Linked DNA regions of Homo sapiens: all the other regions are linked to region 1. Evidence: promoter capture Hi-C in human tissues and cell types (Jung and others, 2019). All regions are on one chromosome and are shown on one strand. The core of a region is centred on a gene start or on the middle of the fragment in contact, and the rest is flanking DNA. Distances in the headings are between cores, read along the strand shown.

Region 1 (5,783 bases), core at 1,684-4,183:
CCCCAGCAGCCCCAGTCACTGCCTCCTGAAGCAGGGCACCCTGAGCTTGGCTGGGCCAAATCCTCCGCTGAATGTAGCCAGCAAGCAGCTCCCAAAGGCGGGAGACAAACGAACACTCCTTAGTTAAATTATTCAGACCGTCTTCACTATGGAATAAAACATTGATGAGACTACTTTGGAAGTGCTTTATCTTGTTAATTCTAATGTCTTCGAGAAAGGAGTGAAATTTTCCGATGGGGGCGGGCGCTGAGATAAGACGAAAGGGAATTCAGGGGAAAAAAAGGCGCCAGGGTAAAGGGCTTTGGAAGTTAACTAAATTTGTTCTGCTTCAGCCGGCCATGGAAATCTCATTTTAACATACCAGACCCAATATGTTAATTAGGCAGTCGCAAATCCAACCTGCTCCTTGTAAATCAAGGCACCGGAAAAAAAAAATTCAAAATATCTATTATACAGGGATAAAACAAACAAACAAACAACAACAACAAAAAAACGCGCAAAGGAGTTGCGTGTCCGTGACGGGGACAATACAGCTGGAGAGAATGTTGGGTGGTGGCTATCGTTTTAGCCTGGTTCTGCTAGATATAAAAATGACTTCTTTCATGGATTTATTCTGCTACATAAAAGCACGTCCTGGCAGTTAAACACCATATCTCAAGACACACAGCCGTGACAATATGTATTCCCTTTCATGCAAACCAAGTTCCAAGAAAACTCCATTTCGAGTCAAAGTCTCCAGATGCGTAATTTACAACTACTAAAAAGATCTGGCAAGCTCCTCCACAACAAGGAAAGGAAAACAACCTGGCACCAGAGGTAGAAAAGGGTAGAAAAGATCTTTGGTTTAAATGATGGGTGGAAACCAAACACCCACTCACACTTCACAATCTGGAAAGGGTTGGGTACCAAATGGTCCGTGGCAACCACAGCCTGAAGGAAACACAGAATTTTGATCTCTGGCATCTTCAGACAGGTTCCACACGCCTAGCTCTCAAAAAATATCCTCAGGGTGGAGCACATCCATATTCTCAAAGCTTTCACTACTAGATTAAGTGCTTAGGTATAGATTTATATTTCACCTACTAGAAATCGTATTACAAAATCACAGAGCAGGCGCCCTTGGATACCCAACCCTTCCCAATGATTTTCAAAACATTAATAAGTAAAGTAGCCTGCAATGCAGATAAGACACTAGAAACAAGATCAAAAGGAAATTGGGTGAGGCGAGTAATCGTTGGTTTGTTACCTGGTGCCTCTAAGGGAAAAGACGGTCGTAGGAAGACTTTCTGCCTGCAGGTACAATCCCGGCAAGGTGGCTCCAGGTGGCTTTCACAGTCGTACGCGGGTCTCGCTCGTCACTTCGCTGCCCTTTGCCATAGCTCAGCACCCGCATCGTAGGGAATCGGAAAGGCGGCTCCTGCCACTGCCGCCGCTGCCCGCAGGTCGCTCTGGGTGGGGGAATCGCTGCAATCGCCCCATGAAACCCGCGGCTCCGCGCCCGGGGAGCGGGCAGAGGCAGGGCGGCCGCGCACGCACACACAGACACACGCTCACACTCACACACACTCGCACCCGGGCGCGCGCGCACTTGCACTCACACTCGCACACGCACACCCAGCACTGCACGGGGAGGAAGCAGCACGGAGGGAACCGGTCCTTCTCACGATTGGCTTCGAAGCCCACCGGACCGCGGGCAGCAAAGAGAGCGTTCTCGCATAGCCCTTTAATCACGTTTCCTTCAAGTTCTCCTCCAACCCGAATCCACGTAATTCAAGAGCTGGTGACATTTTGGTGGGGAGGAGGGAGCCGAGAAAGGGCTGAGGAAGAGTCGGGGATTTTGTTAAGCAGTTTAATAAGCAATCCTCATTACCTTATTTGTTTTGTTTTGTTTTGTATAGCAAACCAGTTCGAAGGGCTGAACTTTTGGCTTCAAATGCTGTGAACCAAAACGTAAATATCCTTCTGGCCAAGAGAAGAAGGTGTAGATACACGGAAACAAGAGGGCTGCAAGACACTCTCTTGACCTTGTGATGTACCTGGAAGCAGGTTAATATTGGCGCTTTCCAAGCTTCTGGGTAAAGCGATCCACACACCTGGGTCCACAGCCCAGCAGCCGCTCCAAATCCAGCCAGGAAAATGGGTCTGGGCGTCCTCAGAGCTCTGCAAGAACCCGGGCATGAAGGGGCATCGCCGAGTTAACACATTTGCTTCTGGGCAGTTGGATAAAAGACAGTCAAATGCATCAGATAGGCGCGCGCGTACACACGCGCGCGCACACACACACGCAGCTAGCTGGAAAGCGGCTTACAAAACACTAGAGACATGCCAAGATGACTTGAAAAGGTAGCCAACATCCAGGATCTTTCCGGAACACAGAAGGGCCAGCAGGGAGGTTATCAAAGTCTTCTCAAGTCTTTCAATTCTTCCTCTCTCCTCTGAGTGTGTGTGTGTCTGTCTAGGTTTCGTTGGTCTGCCCCACCCCCGTCCAGTTGCGCTTTTTTTTTCTGATATAACGGACCGTGCAAAATGGATTATATGGGTGGGCTGTGTTCACAGCCAGAGCTCCCCAAAGTCAAGGATCCTAAGGGAGCAGCCAGCTGCTAAACAATTCACATCCTCAAGGGAAGAAGGAAAAACACGCTCAAACACACGCAAACACGCGCACACACATACATAGTCCTCCGTTCGGGCAGCTCTGCACACGCTCACCGCCTCCCTGCGCGCCGCGGAACACAGCGCCCCGCCCGCTGGCCACCGCGCTGGGGCGAGTCCGCAGTTCAGGCGCGAGGCAAGCAGCCGAGGTCCGGGGCTGCGGCCGCGGCCGGGGCGGACCCGGGAGCTGGGCTTCCCAAAGCGTCGCGTGTGGGCAACGGCGGCCTCCTGGCCGCGTGGAACTGAGCCCTGCGCTGCAGCATGAAGGCGGCGGCGGCGGCGGCGGCGGGCGCGCGGCCGTGAGCTCAGCCCGCGCTGCAGTGACGGGAGCGGCCGTGTCGGCCAGACCCCGAGAGTCCGTGAGACCCCGGCCGGGGCCGCTCCGCTGCTGTCAGCCCTCGGGCCTCCCAGCCAGACTGGTTCTGAACCGATTTATCAGGGGGTTGCGGAGAGGGCCGGCGAAGCGCCAGGAAATCCCCAGGCTGAGGAGGCGCGGGGGCGTTGCAGGAAGGGGGAAGGGAAAAGGCAGAAAACCTGGAGAATGAAAGCGAACTTCCAGGGGCGTCCCCAGCCTCCTGCAAAAGGGCAATTTGCTGATCGCCCACTTCCTCGCAGTTACGGGATAGAGAGAATCATCACTGAGTCAAGCTTCGGCTGCTTAGGGCGGTGGGAAAAGTCATTATCTATAATAACCCGCCGGAAATTTTGAGGAGAGCTACTGACTTGGGGGTTTCAGTCATCTGAGGCTGGCTTCCGCTGTCCCCTTAGTTGTGGGTGGTGATTTGCTTACTAATCAGATGGGAGCGGATTCTGAAAAGAACATTTATATTTGGGAATCAACTCAGCTCAGCATCAGACATTACGAATACTGCAGTTGGTCACATTTTACTATGTGAAGGGCAGAAAGGGAGCCCAACAGTCTTCATAAGCCAGACCTAGTCTCTAAGGTCACCGGCACAGACGCAGGGTCTAAAGCAGGAAAGAGGTGCGACTGGAAAGGAGGTTAGACAGGGCCCTGCGGGAATGGATCTGCCCGGAGCCCTCGCCTGGTTTTGCTTGAGACTCCGACAAGACTCCCAATGCTTCTCTCCCCGACCCTATCCCCACTCCCTCCATCCTGGAAAAGCCAGTGAGCAAAGTTAACTCTTTCTTCTAAGAAACCCTGAGTGAAATCTTGCTCTTCCTTTCTGCTAGAGTCCTGAAACCCTTTCGCTTCTCATTGTGGGTTCACCAGCACGTGGTCTTCGGACACTGAGAGCACCTTCGCTCTCAGCTGTGATCCTAGCTAGCCCAGACACCAGTCTGTACCCAAAGGAAGAGTAGGAAGTTGCAAAGGGAAGCTGGCTAACAAGGGCTTCTTCTGCCCTACTTGGCAAAGGCCCATACGGGTGGCCTCCGTGGATATGGAGCTCCTTCATTTTGTTCCAAAAAGAGCTCTGCCAGGCTTTACCATTGCCCTGGAGGTGCACAGGCGCCCGTATACTCGAGCACAACCATGGGCTCACCCCAAGCGCGCACACCTGCACCCACGCGTAAGGAAGAACCACACAGCTATCTCTGTCGGGGAAGAACACGAGGAGTGAAGTGCTTTAGGTGGAAACTCCTCACATCTCCTTTCTTTCCTCTGCTCCCCCTCTCTGCCCCTGGTACTCCGGATCCAATCCTTGGCTTAGGAATCCACTCAAGCCACGTCTGGCTGCTTTGTTCCAGAGGAGCGCAGCTCCGAGACTGCACTTCAGCGGTGCAGCCTCCCTCCAGGTCGGCGAGCGGCGCCAGATCCGGGACTTCAGGGTCTCCGCGGGAGCTTAGGAGGCTCAGGATCTGAGTTGGAGAGCTGGAAGGCCAAACTCCGAGCCGCTGAGGGACTGCGCAGGAAGACCACAGAAATAAACCAAAGGGACACCGCGGACAGATGTACCAGAGGACACCACTGAAGTCCAGGAGAATCTCCACCAAAACCATCAGCGTTTTCCTTGTAGCTTTCTGTCCCTCGAAGTGGAAAGTTGAGGTTTCTGAGAAGTCCACGGAGAGAACCTGCAGCAAACTGAAGCCACAGACTCCGAAGGCATAGGGAGAAAAAATGCTTCCATCCCCCTTTCACTTTAAACTTGATCGCTTCTGGGACTTCACTGGAGGGCGGTGGAGTTGCACCAACCTGGAGTACAGGCAGATCCCAGCGAGCACTTCCAAGTACTTTAGGACGTGGGGGTGACTCTTTTTTCTTCAGGATTGTCCCACTTGCCACCCTTTCCAGCTGAGCTGATAGGAACCAATGAAAGTCTAGGCGATGAGGATTTTCCGTTACCTCAGGGATCAAAGTATAAAATGTTGAATGAGAAACCCGAAGACCTTGCATCGCTGGGCTGAATAACTTGTTTTCTTTTTTATGGTGTCCAGACTGAGGTAGGGAGGGGACACACTGACCTAGCTGTAAGAAGTCAAGGGTTGGGACAAAACAAAGTTCAAATATATACTGGAATTTGTGTGTGTGTGTGTTTCAGAAACTGTGTGTGTGTGTGTGTGTGTGTGTGTGTGTGTGTGTTTTCAGCTTGAGAAAGATGAAATCACGTTTCCTTAATGCTGGGAGTAATAATGCTTAATGCTTAACTTTTCATTGTTCTTTCATGTTTCAAGCCCTACCAGGCCCAGGAAAACACTTCTTTCCGTTTCCTGTAGCCTTCCTGCGTATCATGCATTATATTTGAAAGTGCTTTCCTCTACTTTCCTCATTTTATCTCAATAATCTCTGCTAAAACCAGATAACTTTCACCCTCCCGGTTCAGCATTTGCTCTTTTCCCTCCTACACAAGCTGATTAGAATTTGCAAAGAGAGAGGAAGAAGAAAGGTTCTATTTTGTTTCATGATTGTTGCTAGAAAACGGCAAGACCTCGGGAGAGAGACCAGCATATTATTTCCCAGTGGATGTCAGAGCTAGCAAAGTTTTTTTTTTTTCTTTAAATTTTATTCCCTAGCAGGTCAAAAACTAGTATGTTTGCAAGAACAATTTCTAGTTTGCTCATAAAACTATTGTTATTAGCCACTCTAAGGTTGGCATACTTTTAAAAGTTCAAACAAGTTCCTTCTAGAATAGGGTTCTTTTAAACATTAACATTTAAAAAGAAGTAATTTT
Region 2 (5,783 bases), core at 2,217-4,716, 740 kb after region 1:
TCTGTTGACCTCATTATCTGCCCATCTCGGCCTCCCAAAGTGCTGGGATTAAAGGCATGAGCCACCACGCCCAGCCCCTATTTTATTATTTTTTTTAAGAATAATTTGGTTTTCTATTTCCTTTGCTGTTCCACATAAATTTTAGAATAATCACGTATCTCTCTATACATAATCTTTCAAGAGTTCTTATAAGAATTGGATTAAATCTGTTTAATTTGGTTAGAATTTAAATCTTTCTTTTCTGTCTTCCAATCTATGAACACTGTATGTTTTATTTAAACATGGTATTATTTGTTTATATCTTTTATTTTTTTCATTAGAATTTTTTAGCCTTAAGATACAAATCTATTACATGTTTTGTTACAATTACATCTAGGACAATTGTAAATGATACTGCAACATTTAAGTTTTGGTGTCCATATATTGGTTGCTAGTATGTAGAAATACAATACATTTTTGTGTGTTCATTTTGTATTCTATGACCATTATGAACTTCCTTTTTAACTCTACCAGTTTTTGTTGTTGTTGTTATTGTTCTTTTTTTTTTTTTTAGATTCCTTGGTATTTTCTTAATAAAAAGATCATTTCACCTGTAAATAAAAACAGTTTGATTTCTTCCTTTTTAATATGAATAACTTTTGTTTCATTCATTCATTTATTGTTGCTTTATTTCATTGCCTAGAACTTGTAGTACTATGCTGAATAAGAGTACTAAGAGTAGATAACCATGACATGTTCCCACTCTCAGGAAAAAAACCACTAATTTTCAAGTAGTATGCTAGCTGTAGTGTTTCAGTATATGCTTCTTAACAAACTCAGGGTCGTCTCTCTATATTTGTTTGAGGACTGGCACAAAGAAGAATGGAGAAAAGAAAATAAACAAAAATATAAGAATACACAGTCTGTAAGTGTTAAAAGTTTCCCTTCACATTCCTTTATCAGGAAGTAGAGGATATTTCTTGAAATTACCTCTGTGTCCCAGTGCCTCTTCTGGTGCAATGATTTCAAGCCAGGGAGACTATGGAAGGAGAAAAATGATAAATTCACTGAAACTTTTATGGTATTTTGAATTCTGGTGTCTTTATTCTACCTACTCTATTTACTTATTAGAGTCCTCAGCTTAATGCTCAATTTAGGACACAAAGGTAGCATATGACTACATAGCTTATCCAGAACTTGAACCCCAAGTGCATATTTTTAGTGTCATTTTATTTCATAGTAAAATCAAAAAGGACGATACTTAGCTGGAATAATTCTGGCCAAATTCATTCCTCTACATTTACATATAAAATCATAAATAGCTTCTTGAGTCCATTATTATGTAACAATTTAAGGAGCAGAGCAAAGCAATGCTATATGTGGTGTGAATATTACATATTAAAATATACACAAAAAATAGTAGGAAATATAGAAACGATGCCAATTTCAGAAATTTGATTAGCTCTGGGGAATGAGAAAGAGAAAAGAATCAGTATGTGGACTTTTGCCTGTGCCTGCAAGATTTTATTTCTAAAAGGAAAAATAAAATGAGCTAATGTTAATATAATGGAGGTTTAATTACAAAAAAGAACATATGATTATATGTAAAATTATTTTGTTATTTTATGTTTGAAATGTGTTCGAATTAAAAATTTAAATATTTTGAAAATCCACGAAAAAATTACAATCTTACTTAATACTACAAAATCACGGTTATGATCAGAATACCAGAATCTTTTGGAAATATTATCCTTACACTGTTAATTGTATTACAGTAATTTTACAGGAAGGTAATAGTGATATGGATGGACAAAAAAATTAAAACTAACTCTTTGCCAACTGTCTTAAGTAACACTTGTAATACGTATTGGTAGAATTTACAACAAAAAAAGTCATTTATAATTCAAAACTGACAACAACATATATCTCCAAATACAAATGATAAAGCATATGGGATATATATAATTGAGTTGAACATAGGGGGTTGGGGGATTAGATAAGGGGAGCAGCAAGCTAAATTAATATGTTTCTAACTTAAGTATATGTGTACTAAATAAGGGCAAATACACAATTCCCATTAGCCTTTTAACATGCTTAAGTACCTCCAATGGCTACTTAGGAATTCTTAAAATGTGATATCTTTATTCAAAGTTTCTATAAAAAACATATATTATAAAAAGAAAAGAAATTTTATAAAATACACTCCAGTGTGGTATATTTATTTATTAACCATTTTCATTTCTTTAATTGTACCCTACTCAAAAGTTACACATGCAAAACTGAAAAAGAAATGTAATGATTCCCATTATTATGACATATTTTCATCTTATTTTAGTGTGAAAAGTAATTTCTCAAGACCTGCCTTATCTGACAAGCACTGAATCATCTCTCTTTCAATCTTTCTTTTAAAGGAAGAGATAAGTAAGGGGAAGTAAAACCTAATACCAGTTTGGCCTTTCATTTATATAAATTGTTATTATTTTGCTATTATTATTATATTTCACATTTCATATTTATGTTCTAGAGTAATTTATGTAAATTAGTAGACATATACATTATTTTTTGCTTAAAATATTTGAAACAATTTCAAGGCACATTATATGAGATGTCTTCTTCATTTGCCAACACAGACATCTGGAAATAAGTCTATGCCCAGAGTTTCTTTATTCTTGTTTTAGCTCTCAACAATGTAGCTGAGATTAAAGGTTATTAGCATACTGAAAACTATGTAATTGAAGGAATATTATCTTGCCTTTACTTTGACTGTGAGAGAAGAAGAGTATAGCTGCTAGAATAAATATGAAAGTCAGAGCCTTGATAAGGTCTAGTAACCCAATCATTGGCATTCACTATGGAAAAGGATGATGTGCTTTATTTCCCTCTAGTGGTTTAGTAAATGAATAAATAGAAGAAAAAAAAAGTGAAATGGCTTCGATGTACTAGCTTAAAAGCCATTCATAATTTTGAGATGCCTGATGTAGGCTACTTCTAAAATTACACTATAAAATTTGCAAACAGAAAATAAAGATGTGCTTATAATCAAACAAGCATGATGCATCAGAAAAATAAATTGGTAGAAAATCTGCAATCAGCACCAAATTAAATTATTTTTCTGTATTCAGGAAGTCAGTGTTCATGAGGCAGAAACAAAGAGATGAAGTGATGCTTTGCATCTTTCAAAGTTAATACACAAAAGCTATAGAACAAAGATTAAGAAAAAGAGAATTTAAAGTCTTTTATTTGCTTTTGAGAAAGCTTATTTAGTTGCAGGAATTTGATATTTACTTTTGTTAATAACCATTTTTGGTAAGACCAAGTTTAAAATAATTTGTATCACCTGAACATGTGGTCCTGGGCAGAAAATCATGAAAAAAGCTATAAAATTTCTAAATGACATATAAAGTGCTAAGTAGTTGGATGAAATTTTTAATTTAATTCCCAGACCAACATCATAAGATATGTATCATTATTACTATCACCATGGCCCAGATGTTTACTGAAGGAGACAGGTAAAATGTTTCTAAGGTAACAATAATTAGAATTAGACTGAAACGCGGGTAGTCTGACTCCAGAACTTAAATTGTTAGGAAGTCAGAACATGTCCTTGGCATGATTTTAAATATTTATCATGCGTAAAGGATACTTAAATAAGCCAGAGTTATTTTTAGGACAAGGTTCTGCCAGAAAGTGTTATTGAATTAGGGTTGTATAGTACATAGACCCTTGAATAATGCAGGGGTGAAAAGCACCAACTCCCCTCACCATGTAGTCAAAACTCCACATATAATACATGATTCCCCCAAATTTTAACTACTAAAAGCTAACTGTTAACCAGACACCTTATTGATAACATAAAGTCAATTAATACATATTTTGTATTTTATATGTATTATGTACTGTATTCTTACAAAAAAGTGAGCTAGAGAAAATAAAATGTTATTAAAAAAATAAGGAAGATAAAATAAACTCATTATTCACTAGTGAAAATAGATCATCATTTGCATCACCTGTAAGATTTCATTCTCATCATCTTCATGTTGAGTAGGCTGAGGACGAAGAGGAAGGGTCTTATTGTCCTATTGTCTCAGAGGTTGCAGAGGCAAATTAAATAGAGAAAGTAAAAGGGAAGGTAGGAGAAATTGACTGAAAAAAATCTGCAGGTAAGTGGACCCTTGCAGTTCAAACCCTTATTGTTCAGTCAAGTGTATTTTATTCAACTAGTTAATTAGATGAAAAGATACACAATTGAGAGAAGAAAAACATACTTAGTGATTTTTTTATTAAAAGAGAATTATTTAATAATATATATTTTCTAAGAAATTTAATAATATCAGTGACACCATTTGTAAAATTATTTTTACATGTCAGACTATTGTTATATATTATTTGATATGTTTTTCTGAAAAAAGGTGACAAAATTACTTAAAGTGAAAAAGCAATTATTTTCAGAAGTTATTTTCAGTTATTTTCAGAATTACTTTATTCAGTTATTTTCAGAATTACTTTAAGAAGTTGAATTAAATACAAAAAAACAAAAGACATAAATATTTCAATTTTTAAATACTTCTTAGCATATGACAACTTATAAAATCAACTGGAAGAAACATATAATACAATTATTATTTGAAATTATTTTTGAGAATTTTTTTCTACCAATTGGTAAAATATGAATCAATAGTTTCAATTTTAATAGCTACATTATCTTTAGGAAAGGATTTGCTATTATTTAGAGATATATTCAATTTTTTAGAAACCATAAAACTAATGTTAGGAATAATAATTTTGTCCAGAAAGGGTGTGAAGATATAGTCATATTCTGTGGTTTAATCATATCTTTGGAGAAAGTTTCAGAAGCTATATTCCCAAAAATATTTTAAGCAATTGAAGCATCATCGAATAAGTTTGCCACATATGTAAAAAATAACATTATACAAAGTAAACCCTTTGCAAATGATGGCTAATGTAATCTGCTTTACATGATTTGTAATTTCAAAGAACCCTTAGCTAAATAGATTAAAACATTTCTGTAACTTTATAATCACTTCTCTGCACACTGGAAACCACTTATGACCCTAGAAATTCTAAAAAATGAAATTTAATAGAAGATAAACTTGTTTTGGCTGCTATCCACAAATATTTAGTTGCTTAAATGGAAACAGTAAAAGGCAAAACAAAAATAAACCAAGCAAAAATGCTTCACCTTGTCACAAGTTTTATATTTTCAATTTAGAAAGTTAATTGCATCATTAATATTGACTTGTACTGTCATCATACATTATCCTATTAGTTTTAATTGGAAGATGACAGGAATGTTGAAGAGTATTATGTTAACCTTGCTTTCAAATCATTGCTTACATTCACAACTTGCTTTTTTTTTAAAATAATATTGAGGAAAACATAGAAATGATAAGCTATTCTCAGAAAAAATTGTGTTTGTGACATAAAAATAGGCTTTACATGTGACAGGGATTGCCTTTGTATTGATATAATTTTTCACATTTTTTATTGACACACTATCTTTCTTTAAGAAGCATATATTTTTATAGAGTAGACTAGAATTCAATTGCTTCATGTGAATAGTTCAGCCAAAAGGTAACCTTAAACCAACAATTTGGCTGAATACACTTTTGTTTTCGAATTAAAAAAAAAATCCTTAGAAGAGATAGACACTACTTTCTACGTCTGCTTTTGAGAAGTGTCTGTTGATGTCCTTTGCCCAGTTTTAATGGGCTTGTTTTTTACTTGTTGATTTAAGTTCCGTAAAGATTCCGGATGTTAGATCTGTGTCACATACAGTTTGTGAA
Region 3 (5,783 bases), core at 1,801-4,300, 620 kb before region 1:
GGATTTTAGAGAGCAGCAGGTTGCCCTCCATCTTGGGTGAAGTATGATGAGCATGTTATAGTGGGATACTATGTACCAGAAATAACTGAAAACCACACTGACAAGATGATCCTACAGAGGACAAAATATATTAATAATGATACTAAAACAACTGCAAATGCACTTTAAAATGAAACAGCATAACACTCTTGGACTAGCCGACAGGATAAAATAATAATTTAGTAAGCTATTTTTTACCTATTTTACCTCACCCCTAAAAACACATGAAGCTATGTTGAAAACTACATTACAAGTTATTGCCGCACTGACACTCAATAACTTGTAAAATGCCAGCAATGCACCTACTATAAACACATTGAAAAAGCATCGTAGTACATTATTGCCTCCAGGAGTGGAGACCATGTTTATGGAACTCGGAAGTTATGACCCCATCTGTTATGTATGTCCAACAGCTTATCCTCTTGTAAAAAAGGCTGCCATGCAACTCCACATATATCAAGTAGGGATAGTAGAACTTGGGATGGGGGATAAAATAACACTTGCTTCTTGGTTCATTTCTCTTACTTACTCACAAATGTGGTTAATATACCGCAGTTAAAATAATACCTCATGTGAAATATTAACCATTCTTCTTCCCCTTAAAAGGGCTCTCCTAAGCCATGTTCAAATGTAGTATTAAAAATTCACTACAATTTAAAGCAACAGCAAATGAATCACATGAAAAAAGAGGAAAAATTTCCTTTTATGAATTTAAAATTTTGTTCTAATTTCTGCTTCCTAGCTTTTCTATGATAGAAACAACTCTGCTGTACATGAATTACAACCTGTTCTTTAATTTAAGGTTTTACTATTCAAATCTATTCACAGACAGGCTAGCGTAGCTTGGGGTGTAATGAGAATACAGAATGTCGGGGAGAAGAGCCAAGATGGCTGACTAGAAGCAACTAGTGCACATCGCTCTCATGGAGAGGAGACTGAGGGGCAAGTAAATACTAGCTCAAGTGAACCATTCAAGAAGCAAGAGTGACCCACTGAGAGTAGAGTAGAGATGGCGGGGGCAGGATCGCTGCCCATGGGAGATTGACATAGAGCAAGGGGTGGTTCCCTACCATGGGGAAAGAGTGAGTGAACGAGAGCCCCTGGGACCCACACTTCTGCCATGGACCTTAGCAACCAGATCCCTCTGACACCCCTACTGCCATCACCCCACCATCCCACCCCACCCTCCAGACTGATGTGGAGAACAGCCTGGAGAGTCCAGGCAGAACCGTTGCTCAAGCCCATGTGGAGCCCCACGGGCCTTGGATCCCTGAGCACCCCAGCTCCAGCTGCCATAGCTCTACCAACAAGCGAGGCCAGTCTCTCTCACATGCCCCTAGGATAAGGGCCACATGCATGGTGCTGAGGAGCTGACAGGCTGGAGGCCCCACTTCCCCTGCTCCTTACAGGCAAGGCCCACTGGCTTGGGCCCCCAGAACAGCCACCCACCCCTGTCTAAGCACTCTGGTGGTCATGCCCTGTATTTCTCTGGGACAGACCTCCCACAGGTAACTCACAGGCTTCCTATGACTGCTGCTGCTGTGGTGTCCACCCCTGCTGCCCTCACCCAGGCTAGGTAACAAAGAGTCAGAGAACCGTCACGGGCCTCCAAAACCCTGCAGCTATAGTATGAAAAGGTGGGCAGACTGTTTTCCACATGGATCCCTTCCCCTGCTGTGCCTCACAGGGCAGGGCCTCCCAGCTGGGGTCTCCAGTGCGGTCGACCCACCCCCACCTGATCACTTCAATTGGTGACAGCTCTGCGTTTCTCTGGGGTGGAGCTCCCAGAGACAATCTACAGGCCCTCTGCCATTGTCACCTCTGTGGTATCCACCCTTGCTCACCCCAGGCTAGGCAGGGAACAAAGAGACTGATTGCTTTCATCCACCTGCAACACACTGAAACTGTCCTACAGAGAGAAGGCCAGTCTTCCTCTCCAGCCCTCACCTCGCCTGCTTTTAACCAGACAGGGTATCCTGGTTTGGGCTCACAGCGCAGCTGCCTTAACCGTGGCTTATCACTCTGACCAGCCACGGCTCTGCATTTCTCTGGAGAAGAGTTTCCAAGAAACAACCAAGAGGCCCTCTGTCATTGCCACTAGGAAGGGGCAAAGAACCAGACTGCTTTGCTCATACCTCCAGCACACTTCAGCCACCTTGACCAGATAGATTCAAAGTTGAATTCTACCAGAATCTAATCTAATAGCACATCAAAAAGCTTATCCAACACCATCAAGCAGGCTTTATTTCTGGAATGAGAGGCTAGTTCGACATGCGCACACCAACAAATGTGACTCACCATATAAACAGAATCAAAACCAAAAACTGTATGATCATCTAAATAGACATAGAAAAAGTCTTCTATAAAATCCAATATACCTTCATGGTTTTTTTTTAAAACAAACAAACAAAAAAACAACAAAAACAAAAACAAAAAACACAAAGAACCCCAACAACCCTCAATAGGCACTGAGGGAAAATACTTGAAAATAATAAGAACAATCTTAGACAAACCAATAGCTAATGTCACACTTCATGGGCAAAAGCTAAAACCATTGCCCTTGAGAACTAGAACAAAACAAGGATGCTCACTCTCACCATTCCTATTCAACATAGTACCAGAAGTCCCAGCCAGAGCAATCAATCAAGAGAAATAAATAAAAATCATACAAATAGGAAAATAAGAAGTCAAACCATCTCTCTTCACTGATGAGTCTGTACCTAGAAAACTCTATAAAGACTCCACCAAAAGGCTACTGGAACCAAAAAATGAATTCAGGAAAGTTTCAGGATACAAAATCAACATACAAAAATCAGTAGCATTTTTATACACCAACAATGTCGAGGCTGAAAGTTAAATAAAAAACACAATCTCATTACAATCACCACAAACAAATTTAACATTATTCCTTCAAATTACCAAAATCATTCTTCACAGAATTAGAAAAAGCTACTCTAAAATTCATAGGGGACCAAAAATGAGGTCAAATAGCCCAAGCAACTGTAAACAAGAAGAACAAAGCCAGAGGCATCAAACTACCCAATTTCAAACTATATGTTCAAACTAATATAGCTTTAATATAAGGCTGTATTAACCAAAACAGCATGGTACTGGTATAAAAACAGACACACAGACCAGCAAAACAGAATAAAAATCTCAAAAATAAAGCCACACATTTAAAACCATCTGATCAACTACAAGGCTGAGAAAAACAAGCAACGGGGAAAGGACTCTCTTTCCCAGGGGTGTTGGGATAATGGCCTAGCCATATGCAGAAGAATGAAACTGGACCCCTACCATTCACCATATGCAAAAATCCTACCTAGGAAATACCATTCTGGACATTAACCTTGGGAAAGAATTTTTGGCTAAGTCCCCAGAAACAATTGCAACAAAATCAAAAATTGACAATTGAAACCTAACTAAAGGGCTTCTGCACAGCAAAAGAAACTGAGAGTGAACAGACAACTTACAGAATAGGACAAAATACTCACCACATATGCATCTGACAAAGATCTAATAGGCAGAATCTGTAAGCAACTTAAGTGAACAAGCAAAAAACAAATAACCTCACTTAAAAAATGGGCAAAGGACATGAACAGACACTTCTTAAAAGAAGACCTACAAGTGGTCAACAAACATGAAAAAAATGCTCATCATCAATAATCAGCAGAGAAATGCAAATCAAAAGCACAATGAGATACTATCTCACACCAGTCAAAATGGCTATTATTAAAAAGTTAAAAAACAACAAATGCTGGTGAGGCTGCAGAGGAAAAGGAAAACTTACACATGGTTTGTGGGAGTATAAATTAGTTTAGCCACTGTGGAAAGCAGTTAGGAGGTTTCTCAAAAAAATTAAAACAGAGCCACCAATTTGACCCAAAGGAACATAGATCATTATACCCAAAAGGCACATGAACTCATATGCTTCTTACTGTGCTATTCACAATAGCAAAGACATGGAATCAACCTAGATGCCTAGTAATGGTCTGTTGGATAAAGAAAATGTGATATTTATACACAATGGAATACTATTCAGTCATAAAAAAGAATGAAATCGTATCCTTTGCAGCAACATGGATGGAGCTGAAGGCCATAATTTTAAGTGAACACAGGAACATAAAACTAAATATTGCATGTTCTCACTTATAAGTGGGAGCTAAAGATTGAGCACATATGAACATAAACCTGGAAACAACAGACACTATGGACCACCAGTGGCAGGAGGGATGATGTGGGGCATGGGCTGAAAAGCTACCTATTGAGTACTATTCTTACTACCTGGGTGCAGTATACCTATGTAACAAACCTACACCTGTGGCCCTTATATCTAAAATAAAAGTTGAAATTCAAAACTAATAGTACATAATAAGTTTAGGGCTCAATGAAGTGGATTAGTTAACTCTAAAATTTGGGGGGAAGTTTTAATGTGCTATAATTTATTCTCTTTTATCTTATCATGAGATTCCCATGAAGCTACCTGGAAACCTTGTAGGAATTTTGGGATTACTCTATTTTCTCCAAAAGGATTCTAGTCTTCTCAATTAACTTCAGCTCCATATTGACTCTCAGTGCCATAGTTTTAGCTGAGATCATGTGCCCAAAACCACACTGCCAGGTTAGTCTGCTTTATAGTAGTTTCCTGCCATAGCAATCTGCACCATGCTCATTTTTACTGTAGCAACCTACGGAATGCTAAACAAAGTTGCTACTAGAAAACAAAACAAAACCAAACAAAACAACAAGAAGAAAATTTATATGAAATGCATTTTGTTTTGCTCCTTCTGCCCATAATTTATCCTTTAAGAATTGAAACCTATGTGTGCTTGATTAAAAGAATGGATCTGAGATTAATGTCATACCTCGTGAACCCCCTTTCCATAATCATAGCTTATTGTCTCAAATGTGACCATCTGGCCCATGGAAAATTATTTAATTGCCAGTCAACAAACAATATAGTTACTTCATTTGGGATGTTGAACTGGATAGCACAAGCATACTGATTTAGTAAATTGTAAATAAGTTCTGATTAGTGACAAAATACCACAGTGAAGGTCTAAGAATTTCTTAGGCTGAACCCCTCACAGTTGCCCTGGATCATACATTTCCTGAGGCTTGCTGTGTGTGTTTCTTTACAATATATTTTTTTTCTTCTTTGAGCCATTTGTCACCAGTGTGCTAAAATCAAATGCATTATAATAAAAACAGTGAATTCTTGGCATAGCTTTACCTGTAAAATTAGACAGCTCTAGTTTATTATTTTTATAAGATACCCAGGTGATCCATATGCAGATTAAAGTTTGGGGACCACTGCTCTAAAGTCAGGTAAAATAAAAGAATTAACATGAAGTAGTTGCAATTAACCTAAAGTGGGGTAGTACAGTCTGACAAATTTTTATTTGTCAATTATCCCTTCATAAAGCTATGGAAAAAACGAACTTGTTATTTATGTCCTAATGTAGAAAGATGTTCATGATATATGAAGTGAATAAAAAGAAACTGTGCAAATTATACATACACGCATAGTATAAATCTATTGTTATAAAATATATATGCTACATATATTATATGACAGACATGTGACACACGTACACTTCCACAAATATACACAAAAAAGGATAAAAACAGAAACCATATTTAAAAAATCAGTGGTGCAATGAGATACATGAAATGAGAACTTTCACTTTATAAAATTTCTTAGCAATACTATTATAAGTAGTATCTACTTTGTGGAGTTCTAA
Region 4 (5,783 bases), core at 2,059-4,558, 590 kb before region 1:
AAAATTAGCCAGGCATGGTGGTGGGCGCCTGTAGTCCCAGCTACTCAGGAGGCTGAGGCAGGAGAATGGCGTGAACCTGGGAAGCAAAGGTCGCCCTGCACTCCAGCCTGGTGACAGAGTGAGACTCTGTCAAAAAAAAAAAAAAACAACAAAACACACACACACACACACACACACACACATTAGCTGCTCACTACAGGCAGAGTCCAATTAACAAGAGCAAGATCTGTTACAAAAAAAAAAAGTGAATGTATTCCAAAGCTAGTTTGGGGTAAGGGACACAAAGCATCTTGTCTTTAAATATGCCACTTCAATTTTGGAGCAGAAAATTGGCATTTTTCTATTAAGGTAGGGGAGGAAATGGCCAAAGACGGGGTGCCCCTGCTAGTTTGGTGCCTTATCTACTGGGTAGTTGAGTTGGTACCTTTCTGGGCAGAGGTAGGTTGTAAAAGTGGCCAAGTGGGCATGCTTTCCACATGTTCTTCTAAAGTGACCCTGTGGAGGTGAGTTCTCTGGGGGCACGTTTTGGTCTGCACATCAACTGTCAAGAGGTATCCTTCTCGGAACATATAGGTGAATTAGCCCTGTGGGAGGAAAGTCTGTTGAGGGAGAGGTGAAAGGTTATATTTGAATTTCTTTCTTTCTTTTTCCTTTTTTTTTTTGGGGGGGGGACAGAGTCTTGCTCTGTTACCCAGACTGGAGTGCAGTGGTGCCATCTTAGCTCACTGCAGTCTCCACCTCCCAGGTTCAAGCAATTTTCCCACCTCAGCCACCTGAGTAGCTGGGATTACAGGGTCACACAACCACACCTAGCTAATTTTTGCATTTTTAGTAGAGATGGGTTTCACTCTGTTGGCCAGGCAGGTCTTGAACTCCTGGCCTCAGGTGAACCACCCTCCTCCGCCTCCCAAGGTGCTAGGATTACAAGCATGAGCCACCTCACTCAGCCTTATATTTGCATTTCTAAAGGGCTAAGTAGGAAAGGTGGAGCAAGGGAGAAGGGGAAAGAAGAAAAGAAGAGAAAACAATAAAAAATAAACTATTTCAGAAAAATTGGGGTCCTCAGTTACATTATCAATTTATATTTTTCACTCCTTTTTAAAGTGTATATGTTTTGTGCCCAGTGATGTCTTTTAAATTTGTGTTTTTAAACTGTAACATATAATTTGGCATGCTGCAATTTTTGTATCTTTAATAATAAATTGAATAGAAGTTTCTTAATATGTCATTGAAATTGAGACAAGAAATAGTATCAACAGGTTTGTGAAAATGTTTTAAAAATAGAACTTAAATTTTACAAGATTATTATTTTGTAAATTGTGAGGACTGCTTTTTAAAATATGGCACTTTTTAAAGAGTAATAATACAACTCATCTTTGAAGTGAAAGATTTCTAGAATAACTGGAGAACCATCTTTGCTTCTAGCCAGAATTAGTGTTTCCCTCCTCTTTGCTCCCATTATTCATTCTGCACAGCTTTGCCACACAGTTACTGTTACTGGCAGTAAATCCACATGGGTCTGCAACAACTTCCATTCTTGCCTCTTCAGAAGAAAGAATTTGACCAGGGGGCGTAAAGCAGAAGAAGAGAACCAGGCAAGTTTTAGAACAGGAGTGAAAGCTTATTAGAAGGCTTTAGAGCGGGAATGAAAGTAAAGTACAATTGGAAGAGGGCTGACGGGCTGACGGGTGGCTTGAGACATCAAGTGTGCAGTTTCATTTTTTGACTTGGGGTTTATATGTTGGCACACTTCTGGGGTCTTGCATCCCTTCTCCCCGATTTTTCCCTTGGGGTGGGCTGTCCACATGCACAGTGGCCTGCTAGCACTTGGAAAGTGAGCCTGCACGGCCTGTTCACTGGAGTTGTATGCATGCTCACTTGTGGCGTTCTTCCCTTAGCAGTCGAATGTCCCTGGAAAGTCATATACCAGTTAAACTCTGCCATTTTGCTTCTTAATGCGCATGCTTGAGCCCACTTGCCCAGCTCTTGAGATCTTATTGGGAAGCCCCTGATCACCAGTTTCAGGTATTTCTATCTATTGGGGGACCGCCTTTCTCTGCACCAGCTGTGACCAATTATTATTTTAGAGAGGCAGTGTAACAACTGCTAGACCACTGCCTGATAGTCACCTGACATTTCTGGTGGGGTAGGGTGGGGGTAGCCCTTTCCTGCCCTGCTCATGCCTGACTAGCTACCTACTCAAATACCATTTTAAAAGTACTGTTTTCAGTGTGTCCATGCTATCATACTGTGGGTAATCTGAGGAGTAATGTCTTATTCATTTACATTAGACAATATTTAACATTCTACTTGGAGTGTTACATATATTCAATACATGTCTGTGGAATTAACTCTATGATTTACATTTATGAAATTAAAACATTGAAAATTTACCACTGCATTGTTTTAACCTTTTTTTTCCCTATGGTCATTATTAATATCATTAACCAAAGGTTTTGAGGAATATGGTAGATTTATACTTGCTGTCTTTCTGGTGATAGAATTGAACTTTTTAACTCATATAAGCCAATAAGGAGACATGACATATATCTATGCTGAGTATTTAATTATCAACATGAGATCATCCAGAGTTCTCACTTCTCTTTGTCAGGACAATCAGCAAAGCTGTATATGGTCGTGCTCTGTCAGCCTGGGGCATTGAGGGCTTGAAATAAATAGAGCTCCCCTAGTGACACTGTGTGTGACACTGTAATATAAAAGATAAATACATCTTTTTGTGTAACACTATTGGGATGTTTAGATTTTTTTCCCCGACTTTAATTTAGCCTATCTTATCTAACTATTAAAAAGTTCCACCATGTAAAACAGAATTAAAAAAAAAAAGATTTGTAAAGATGGCTTAAGTTAACGTTGTTCAAAAGAAGAATGGAAAGGAAGGTAGAGACCAAACTTGGATTTAAGAAAGAGACTACAAATCCGAGGGACTTTAATTCCTGCACTATGTACGCCATAAGTTTACTTCACACTGAGAAGCAAGTAGGCTTTCTTAATCTTTCTTAGAATGAAACTTTAAAGAGTAGTCCAACTAGATGAAATATAAATATACATTAAAATATAATCATGTATTTTCTAATATATAAATCATAGTCAATATTATTTTAATATCAATTAAAAATTGATACATATGTGTGCATATTAGAAGATTGTATTTAAAAATGAAAATAAGTGTGTTAAGGTGAATTTCTTAAAGAGTATTTTAAAACTAATATTCTAGAGCCTCCCTATTTGTTATCCTAAGGTTTGTAAAATGCCTTTCCGATCTTAAGAACTTTAAAATTATATAATACATTGAATCTGTGGAAAGAACAAATTTAAAAACAAGCAAGGTCCTATTCTTCAAACACCACTAAGAGTTTTAACTACCTAAAAATCACATAAACAATTATTGAGACCCATAAAAATTCATAGTTGATCCAATGACCAAATGTCTTAGTGTATCTCACATTCAACAAAGGAGAAAAAGATTAGCAAAACACCTGCCAAATTGCATTTCATCTGTAAAACTTTTATTAGTTTAAAGGTAGTTTATATCATTCATATTTCTTTTCTGGCATTTGAAATTCAGTTCTTCAATTTAGGCTTAACATAATATCTGTAGCTATATAAAAGAGATGTAGAGTCAAAAAATCACATAAGAAATTATTTTGGTATAAGGTGTGAGAAATCTCTATTAAAGAATAATAATTAGATGTGTTTAGGCAACCAAATTTTTTTGCTTATAAACCTACTAATAAGTATATAATGAAACATTCCCAATTTCTCTTGCCATGAAAAAATGCATCTCAAATTATTGGCTTAATCATAATCATTTATTTTGTTCATAATTCTGTAGGCTGATGGGGCACAGCTAGGCAATTCTCACTCTGGTTGGCTCATGAAGGTGGCTGGAGTTGAGACCATCTTGAAACTTTGCTACTTATATTTCTAATATATCGCCTGGGAAAATCAAACAGCCGAGGACAAGTACTACTACGGCTCCTCTATTACCTTTCTATCTCTGTGTGGTCTCACCCTGTGGTCTCTCCATAGAGCCTCCAGGTAGCTGGATATCCTACACTGGGGCCCTAGGCTCCCAGATCAAGTATTCTAAGAGAGACCAGCAAAAGTTGCCTAACTGGCTTTTTCTTTTTTTTCCTTTTTTTTTTTTTTTTTTTTTGGAGACAGAGTCTTGCTCTGTTGCCCAGACTGGAGTGCAATGGTGCAATGGCAGGATCTTGGCTCACTGCAGTCTTAGCCTCCTGGGTTCAAGCGATTCTCCTGTCTCAGCTTCCCGAGTAGCTGGGATTACAGGTGTGCGCCACTACACCCATATAATTTTATTTTGTATTTTTAGTAAAGACAGGGTTTCACCATGTTGGCCATGAAATCCAGACCCCAGCGATCCAACCGCCTAGGCCTCCCAAAGTGTTGGGGTTACAGGCATGAATCACTGTGCCTGGCCCTAAATGGCCTTTTCTAACCTATTCTTAGAAATCACAAAGCTTCACTTCCACTGTATTCTATTTGCTGAAGCTGTCAAAAAAGCTCACCCAGGTTGAAGCCAAGGGTCACTGTTTCTACCTTTTGATGTAAGGGGTGCCAAAGAATTCGTAGACATGTTTTTAAACTATCACTGAGATACAAATCAGCATTACAGGATTAGACATCCAGTACAATAAAAATGTAAACTTAGAAGATCTGCAATCCAAAGCCTTTTAAATCTGTTTCATCTGAAATCAGTCATCGCACAGCATTGTTTAGTACACTGAGGCAGGACTACTAGAGTGAATTTCTCATGGTTGAACCCCTCATCATAGAGTAATTTTACTGAGCAAGCAACTTTCTATCACCTGATGTTTCCTCTGCTTCTTCAGCAGCTGAGGCATCAATTGTCTTGAATTTCGCTCCCATTCAAAGCAATAATGTGTTATTGACGGTGAGACATGCATGCCTGGCATTTAGAAATCCTGCAAGGCAGCTGTTTTGTTTCTTGAAACCATTAAGTTGATTACAGAAGATGATTAAATATGATATTTGTTTGAGACCAAATATCACCAGACTTGGCAGGCTGTACAATTAGAGTTTTGAAAAAAAAAAAAAAGTGGTTAAAAGAATATCATCTTTTGTTGAACGGCACAGTGATATACAAAGTAAAGTTTTTACAATTCAACCAACGTCTGAGCAAAACAACTGTCAGAGGCATGTGAACCACAGCAACTCCATCTTAAATAGGAGTTGGGTAAAATGAGGCTGAAACCTACTGGGCTGCATTCTGAGATGGTTAAGGCATTCTAAGTCACAGGATGAAATAGGAGGTCAGCACAAAATACAGGTCGTGAAGACCTTGCTGATAAAACAGGTTGCAGTGAAGGAGGCAGCCAAAAACCACCAAAACCAAAATGACCACAAGAGTGACCTCTGGTCGTCCTCACTGCTACAGTCCCACCAGTACCATAACAGATTACAAATGACATGGCAATGTCAAGTAGTTTCCCTATACTGTCTAAAAAGGGGAGACATGAATAATTCACCCCTTGTTTAGCATATCATCAAGAAATAACCATAAAAATTAGCAACCAGCACCCTGCCCTTGGGAGTAGCCATTACTTTATTCCTTTACTTTCTTAATAAACTTGCTTTCACTTAGCACTGCGGACTAGCTCTGAATTCTTTCTTGCATGAGATCCAAGAACTCTCGGGATGTGGATTGGGACCCCTTTCCTGTAACACAACTATTGATTATTTTTTAGAAGCTGGCTGCCATTTAAATGGGGCAATTAGTT
Region 5 (5,783 bases), core at 1,962-4,461, 580 kb before region 1:
CTTTTGGTTCTGGAGATTAACATATTTCTTTTTTTTTTACAGCTTTCCTTTCCTTTTTGTCATATGCAGAAAATGAAGGATCAAGTAGTTGGAAATAGAAAAACATCAAGGATAAGTCTTGGCTCTTGATTCTTAGTGAAATAAAAGAACTCCATTAGCTAGTGGGTCTACATCTACAAGTGGGGCTTATTCCCCTACAGAATCCACAGGCAAATAAATGTTGGCAGTGATACTGGAAGGTGATTGATAGACTATTCTATAAACAGGGATAGAAGCTAAACATTACATTCCCAGAACTGTGGTTACAATTATTGTTCCCTAGTCATAAATGAGTTGTTGGATTTTTAGAGAAGAGAGCTATAAAATGAACAGAAAGCAGGTCAAATTGTAAAGTCATATAAATCAGGGTGAAGGGCAGGAATGAAATCCAAAATAATTAAAGAAGCCAAGAGTTAATCTGTAATTCAAACAGCTTGAAGAACAGCTCTGGACATAAGATTTTCCAAATTTCTACAAAAATATGTATGAAGATATTATATATGTATATATTTAAATGACACAAAAATCTAAACCTTTTACCTACAATCAACCAATGCCTGAACTGGAGCAGAGTTTATAAAAATAGGAGGTTTTATATCAATGCTTCATTTTTTCACAAGAAGGTAAAATTATAAATAGTTTTTCAATTTCCCAACCACAAACACTGTTAATCATTGTGATGAGGAATCAATAAGAAAATCAGTAGTTGAACCTATGGTATATGCATTTAGTATACTGTGAGGTTATATGCATGCTCTTCCCATCCAGTATTTCCTGACTTCCTCCAAAAATCCCATTTTCAAATGGTCATAAATCTTCAGAAATGAAAACTCCGTGGAAAAAAATGAACAGTTAACAGAGGTAGTTAACTGCTTTCTGTGAGGAAAATCATTGGGTGTAAACATACAGAAAAACTTCTACATCAATTCATGCTAAGAGTGTTAGATTTCATTCATATCATTGGAAATTTGAACTAGAGCTGTGCATATGAATTTATACTTCAAATACACCAAAACAGTAGGATACACGTAAACACACAATCTCACCCATCTATAGAGAGCATAGCAGGGCTGATTTCTTCTCATTGAAGAATGAATAAAGAAACAAAAAAAAAATGCTGTATTAAAAACATCTCCAACCAAAGGAGGGGAAAAAATAAGTGTCATAAGAAAGAGATATGCACAGATTACTTTCAAGAGGCCAAGTTTGTTGTAAATCTATAAGGATTGCAAAGTACAAAGAGAATTTCATCAAATAAACACACATTCCCCTTGAGCTTAATTCTTCCCAACTCAGTGGTGCATATCAAGCTTCACAGGCAACCAATCAAGTTACTCGGTATAATTTTGACAGCATACAGAGGTGTACATAAGAAGCGTGGCTATGTTAGTCTCCCCTTGTCTGTGGTGTTACTTTTTGTAGTTTCAGTTACCTATAGTCAATCATGGCACTGAGATAGATGAGTATAGTACAATAAGATATTTTGAGAGACCACATTCACATAACTTTTATTACGGTATATGTTATAGTTCTATTTTATTATTAGTTATTGGTGTTAATCTATTACTGTGACTAATTTATAAATTAAACTTTATCATAGGTATGTATGTATGGGAACAAAGGTACTATATACAGGGTTCAGTACTATTCTAGGCTTCAGGCATCTGCTGGGGGTCTTGGAATGTATGTCCCATGGATGAGGGAAAGCTACTATATTCTGTTTCATGTTTATATTTCACAGAAAAGATGCAATTGAAATGGCTTGTTTCTACTCATAAAGAACTATCTATATTGATCAAAATTTGAAGCAGTTGTCAAGATTACTAAGATAGAATTTTTTTTCTGAGTACCCACATTGCTGAATGCTTTAACTCTTAAACAGCACCTACTGTTTAATCCACTTTTCTCATGGAGAGAGGAAGAGAAAATCCGCACGCAAACATATGTTCTCTTTTCCAAAATAACTTGGTATAAACTCCAGCCCCATTTGCTGATGAGTCAGTTGTATCCCAGGGACTTTAAGGACTCCTTTTGCCTAGCCGGATTTTGGCCAAATATCTGAAGTACTTCATAGACTAAGAAACTGACTTACCTGCTTATATTAAACCAATATCAAAGTCATGGTTCTATCTAGAGTATTATTTTTATAACAAAGGAGAGCAAATCCAAATGAAAGAAGGGCTGGCATTTCTGTTCCAGGTATCCTTTATCTAGTTTTCTTTTTCCTTGACTGAAGCAAAGAAAGAGGGAGGATGGGATGCGAGTGCAATAGAGAGTATCTTCTTGTGAGCAGAAGACCTGTCTTCTCCCACTGCCACATCTACACTTGGTCATTATCATGTCATTCTCAGTCTAATCCCCTAACTAAAAATATAAGAGAAAATTTAACTTCTTGTTTATACTTATTCATTGACTTTACTAAATATTTCAGATTGAGTAAGGTTGAGAAAGCACAGCAATCTTGAACTAGAACGGGTAACAAACACGTCTGACTCTACTTGGGTTTTGCTGTACTATTAACATTTGCAGAGTAGAGAGTGAGACCTGGGGGCTCAACAAAATATTAGAAATATCTTTACTGAACCTTCCTAAGGCCACTTACTCTGAGCCTTTGTATCTAGTTAAAGCTAACAAAGTGGATGGTGCAACCCCTCAAGATATTTGACAATATATTAATGTTTTTTCTCAGATACCTCTGAACTATATTAGAGGAGAATATTTTTATTCATTTAGTTTACCTCAAGGCCACACTGTACATTCAGCTAATTTATATGTCCAATTTTCCTGGACAATTATATCAAATGTTCATGTATTTTTCATGCCCAATTTTATCAACCAGGTATTACAGAAAAATCACAAGATAAGGTAATGCAGTGAGCACCAGATAGCCATATGACTAAAACACACATTATCTACTGATATATAATCTATACCTACCTACATATTTTCTACTGATCTATCAAGAAATGTCTCAAGTATACCAAGATTTATTAAAAACTTGTAGAAAACAATTTTACCCTCTGATTCTCCTGTAAATCTATTTTTGGTGATGTTCTCTGAATAAAATAACAAAATTTCTAGAATTTATAGCTTTAAGACAGAAAATACTATGAATATTCTAACTCATACATTTCACTGCCTACTTGACATCATTCTTTTTTTTTTTTTTTTTTTTTTTTTTGAGACGGAGTCTCGCTCTGTCGCCCAGGCTGGAGTGCAGTGGCGGGATCTCGGCTCACTGCAAGCTCCGCCTCCCGGGTTCACGCCATTCTCCCGCCTCAGCCTCCCAAGTAGCTGGGACTACAGGCGCCCGCCACTACGCCCGGCTAATTTTTTGTATTTTTAGTAGAGACGGGGTTTCACCGTTTTAGCTGGGATGGTCTCGATCTCCTGACCTCGTGATCCGCCCGCCTCGGCCTCCCAAAGTGCTGGGATTACAGGCGTGAGCCACCGCGCCCGGCCGACATCATTCTTGAAATGCCTAATAGACATCTCAAATGTAATGTGCCAGTGGTAATTAATCTCCAAGAATGCCCCCCCTCGAAAATCACATCCTTTATTATTATGCCTTTTGGAGATCCTTCTCACACTGAATTTGGACTTGCTTAATTCAACACATGCAGTGGAAGGAAACTGTGCCAGTTATAGTCCTAAGCCTTAACAAGGCCTGGTAATTTACATGTTTATTTTTCTGGGGCTCTAAGCCATCATACAAGTGGTCTAGTTACTGTGCTGGAGAGGCTGACTAAACTACATGAAAAAGCTATACAAAGAGAGAGAAACTCAGCAGCCCCAGCAGTGTAGCCCTCTAGCCATTCCTACCAAGACACCAGACATCTGTGTAAAGCTATCTTGGAAATTTCAGCCCCAGCCATCAACCACCAATATCCTTTTAATAGACTCCAAGCAAGACAGTGCAAAATCCATGCAGCTGAATGTCAGTCAGTCCTTGGAATTATACAAATAATCAAATGACTAATGTTTTAACTGCAAATTAATAACCTCAGCTGGAGAATGTGTGTAAGCTACATTTTTATTTGGATGCTTAGGAGACATCTTAACATGACATGCTCAAGACTGAACCTTTCCACGCAAACTTGCACCACACTCCAGTTTTCTCATCTCAGTTGATGGCAACTCTATTCTTTCTGTTGCCTAGACATCCAAATTAGTAATTATCCTTTCCTTTTAATTTCTTTCATACTCCATACCTGCTATTTCAAGTTATTCCTCTGTACTTTCCAAATGTATCCAAATTCCAACCTGGCCTAAGCAATCCTAGTATCTAGATTAGGTTACCATAATAGCCATTTAAGGAATCTCTACTTTACCTTTGCCCTCTGTAGTTTATTCACAGCACACAGTAGCTGGGGTGACCCTCTAAAAAATAAATCATATAATGTATCTCCTCTGCTCAAAACCCAAACGGCTCCTCTTTTAAAAAACCAGAGTGTGTATAATGGCTGACAATGCCCTCATATAACCTCTCTCCCTGCCTCCAACCTTTCTGATTGCATTTCTTCACTTATTTTCTCTTGATCACTCCACTTTTGTCCTACTGAATCCCTGAAGTTCTTCAAACTTGTCGTCACGTTTGCAACCTAGGGACTTTTCAGTAGCTCTTATCTCTTCCTGGAATGCACTTCTCTTAGATATTGACAACATTAATTAATTCTAATTCTTCAAGTAATTGTTCAACTGTTCCTTTATCTATGAGGTCCACTTAAACCCTACTTAAAATCAAAACTCTTTTTCCTAACATTACAGATTCCTTTTTACACTACTACTTTTATTGTTTTTCTTCTTTTCCTCACAGCATTTAGCCAATAAACTGTGTAATTTACTTTCTTATAATGGTTGTGATTTTTGTGTCTCCCTTGCTAGAATATGAGCTACCAAAGTGCAAAAATTGTTGTATACTTGCTCAATGATATATTCGGAACTATTTTTTATAAAAATTATTTTAAATTGACAAATCAAAATTACACATTTTTATGGGGTACTGTGTGCTGTCTAGCTATATGCATAGAATGTGGAATAATTGAATTAAGCTAACGAATATGTCTACCGACTCATCTTTTGTCATGAGACATTTGAAATATACTCTTTCAGCAACTTTGAAACACACATTCACTATAACCACCCTGCTATGCAGTAGATCTCAAAAATTTATTCCTCCTTTCTAACTGAAACTTGGAATCCTTTGACCAACATTGCCCCATTCCCTTTACTCATTTCCATCAGTCTCAGGTAACTACCATTCTCTTTTCTACTTCTATGAGTCTGACTTTTTTAGATTCCACATATAAGTTAAATCCTGTGGTATTTGTTTTATTATGCCTGGCTTATTTCACTTAGTATGTCCTCTAAGTTCAGCCATGTTGTTGCAAATCACAAAATTTCCCTCTCTTTAAATCTGAATGGAATTCCATAGGGTTTATATACCATGTTTTCTTTATCCATTTATCCTTTGATGGACACTTAGGTTGATTCTATATTTTGGCTATTGTGAATCATGTTACAATAAGTATGAGTGTGCAAATATCTTTTCAACATAGTAATTTCATGCCTTATGAGCATATACACAGAAGTAGCATTGTGGGATCATACTGAAGTTCTATTTTTGGTTTTCTGAGAAGCCTCCATACTGTTTCCATATATAATCTCTATACCAATTTACATTCCCACTACAAGAGTTGCCACTCAAAGATAAGGGTTCCCTTTTCTCCACATCTTCTCCAATA

What was found. The method cuts DNA at HindIII sites, captures the fragments that hold promoters and counts their contacts. A contact is called where the count stands out against the background at its distance.
Region 2: a contact is called between a fragment that was not itself captured here and the fragment with the promoter of LRFN5 in region 1, in 2 of the 25 tissues and cell types used here (mesendoderm cells and thymus).
Region 3: a contact is called between a fragment that was not itself captured here and the fragment with the promoter of LRFN5 in region 1, in 1 of the 25 tissues and cell types used here (dorsolateral prefrontal cortex).
Region 4: a fragment that was not itself captured here is called in contact with the fragment with the promoter of LRFN5 in region 1 in 1 of the 25 tissues and cell types used here (bladder).
Region 5: a contact is called between a fragment that was not itself captured here and the fragment with the promoter of LRFN5 in region 1, in 1 of the 25 tissues and cell types used here (dorsolateral prefrontal cortex).

The regions. Positions count from the first base shown.
Region 1 is chr14:41,604,026-41,609,808 of GRCh38, reverse strand. It overlaps LRFN5 (leucine rich repeat and fibronectin type III domain containing 5), which reads right to left and starts at 2,933. Exons shown (of 6, transcript NM_152447.5): 1 at 1,247-2,933. The HindIII fragment of the contact is 3,229 bases long and covers 1,552-4,780 here.
Region 2 is chr14:40,867,525-40,873,307 of GRCh38, reverse strand. LOC105370467 (a long non-coding RNA gene) reads right to left here. Exons shown (of 9, transcript XR_007064132.1): 8 at 970-1,018. Among named protein-coding and RNA genes, the nearest start is that of LINC02315, 84 kb to the left of the region's middle. The HindIII fragment of the contact is 4,394 bases long and covers 1,270-5,663 here.
Region 3 is chr14:42,224,932-42,230,714 of GRCh38, reverse strand. No RefSeq gene overlaps it. Among named protein-coding and RNA genes, the nearest start is that of LRFN5, 620 kb to the right of the region's middle. The HindIII fragment of the contact is 8,023 bases long and covers 1-5,783 here.
Region 4 is chr14:42,198,003-42,203,785 of GRCh38, reverse strand. No RefSeq gene overlaps it. Among named protein-coding and RNA genes, the nearest start is that of LRFN5, 590 kb to the right of the region's middle. The HindIII fragment of the contact is 5,425 bases long and covers 596-5,783 here.
Region 5 is chr14:42,179,456-42,185,238 of GRCh38, reverse strand. No RefSeq gene overlaps it. Among named protein-coding and RNA genes, the nearest start is that of LRFN5, 580 kb to the right of the region's middle. The HindIII fragment of the contact is 5,830 bases long and covers 297-5,783 here.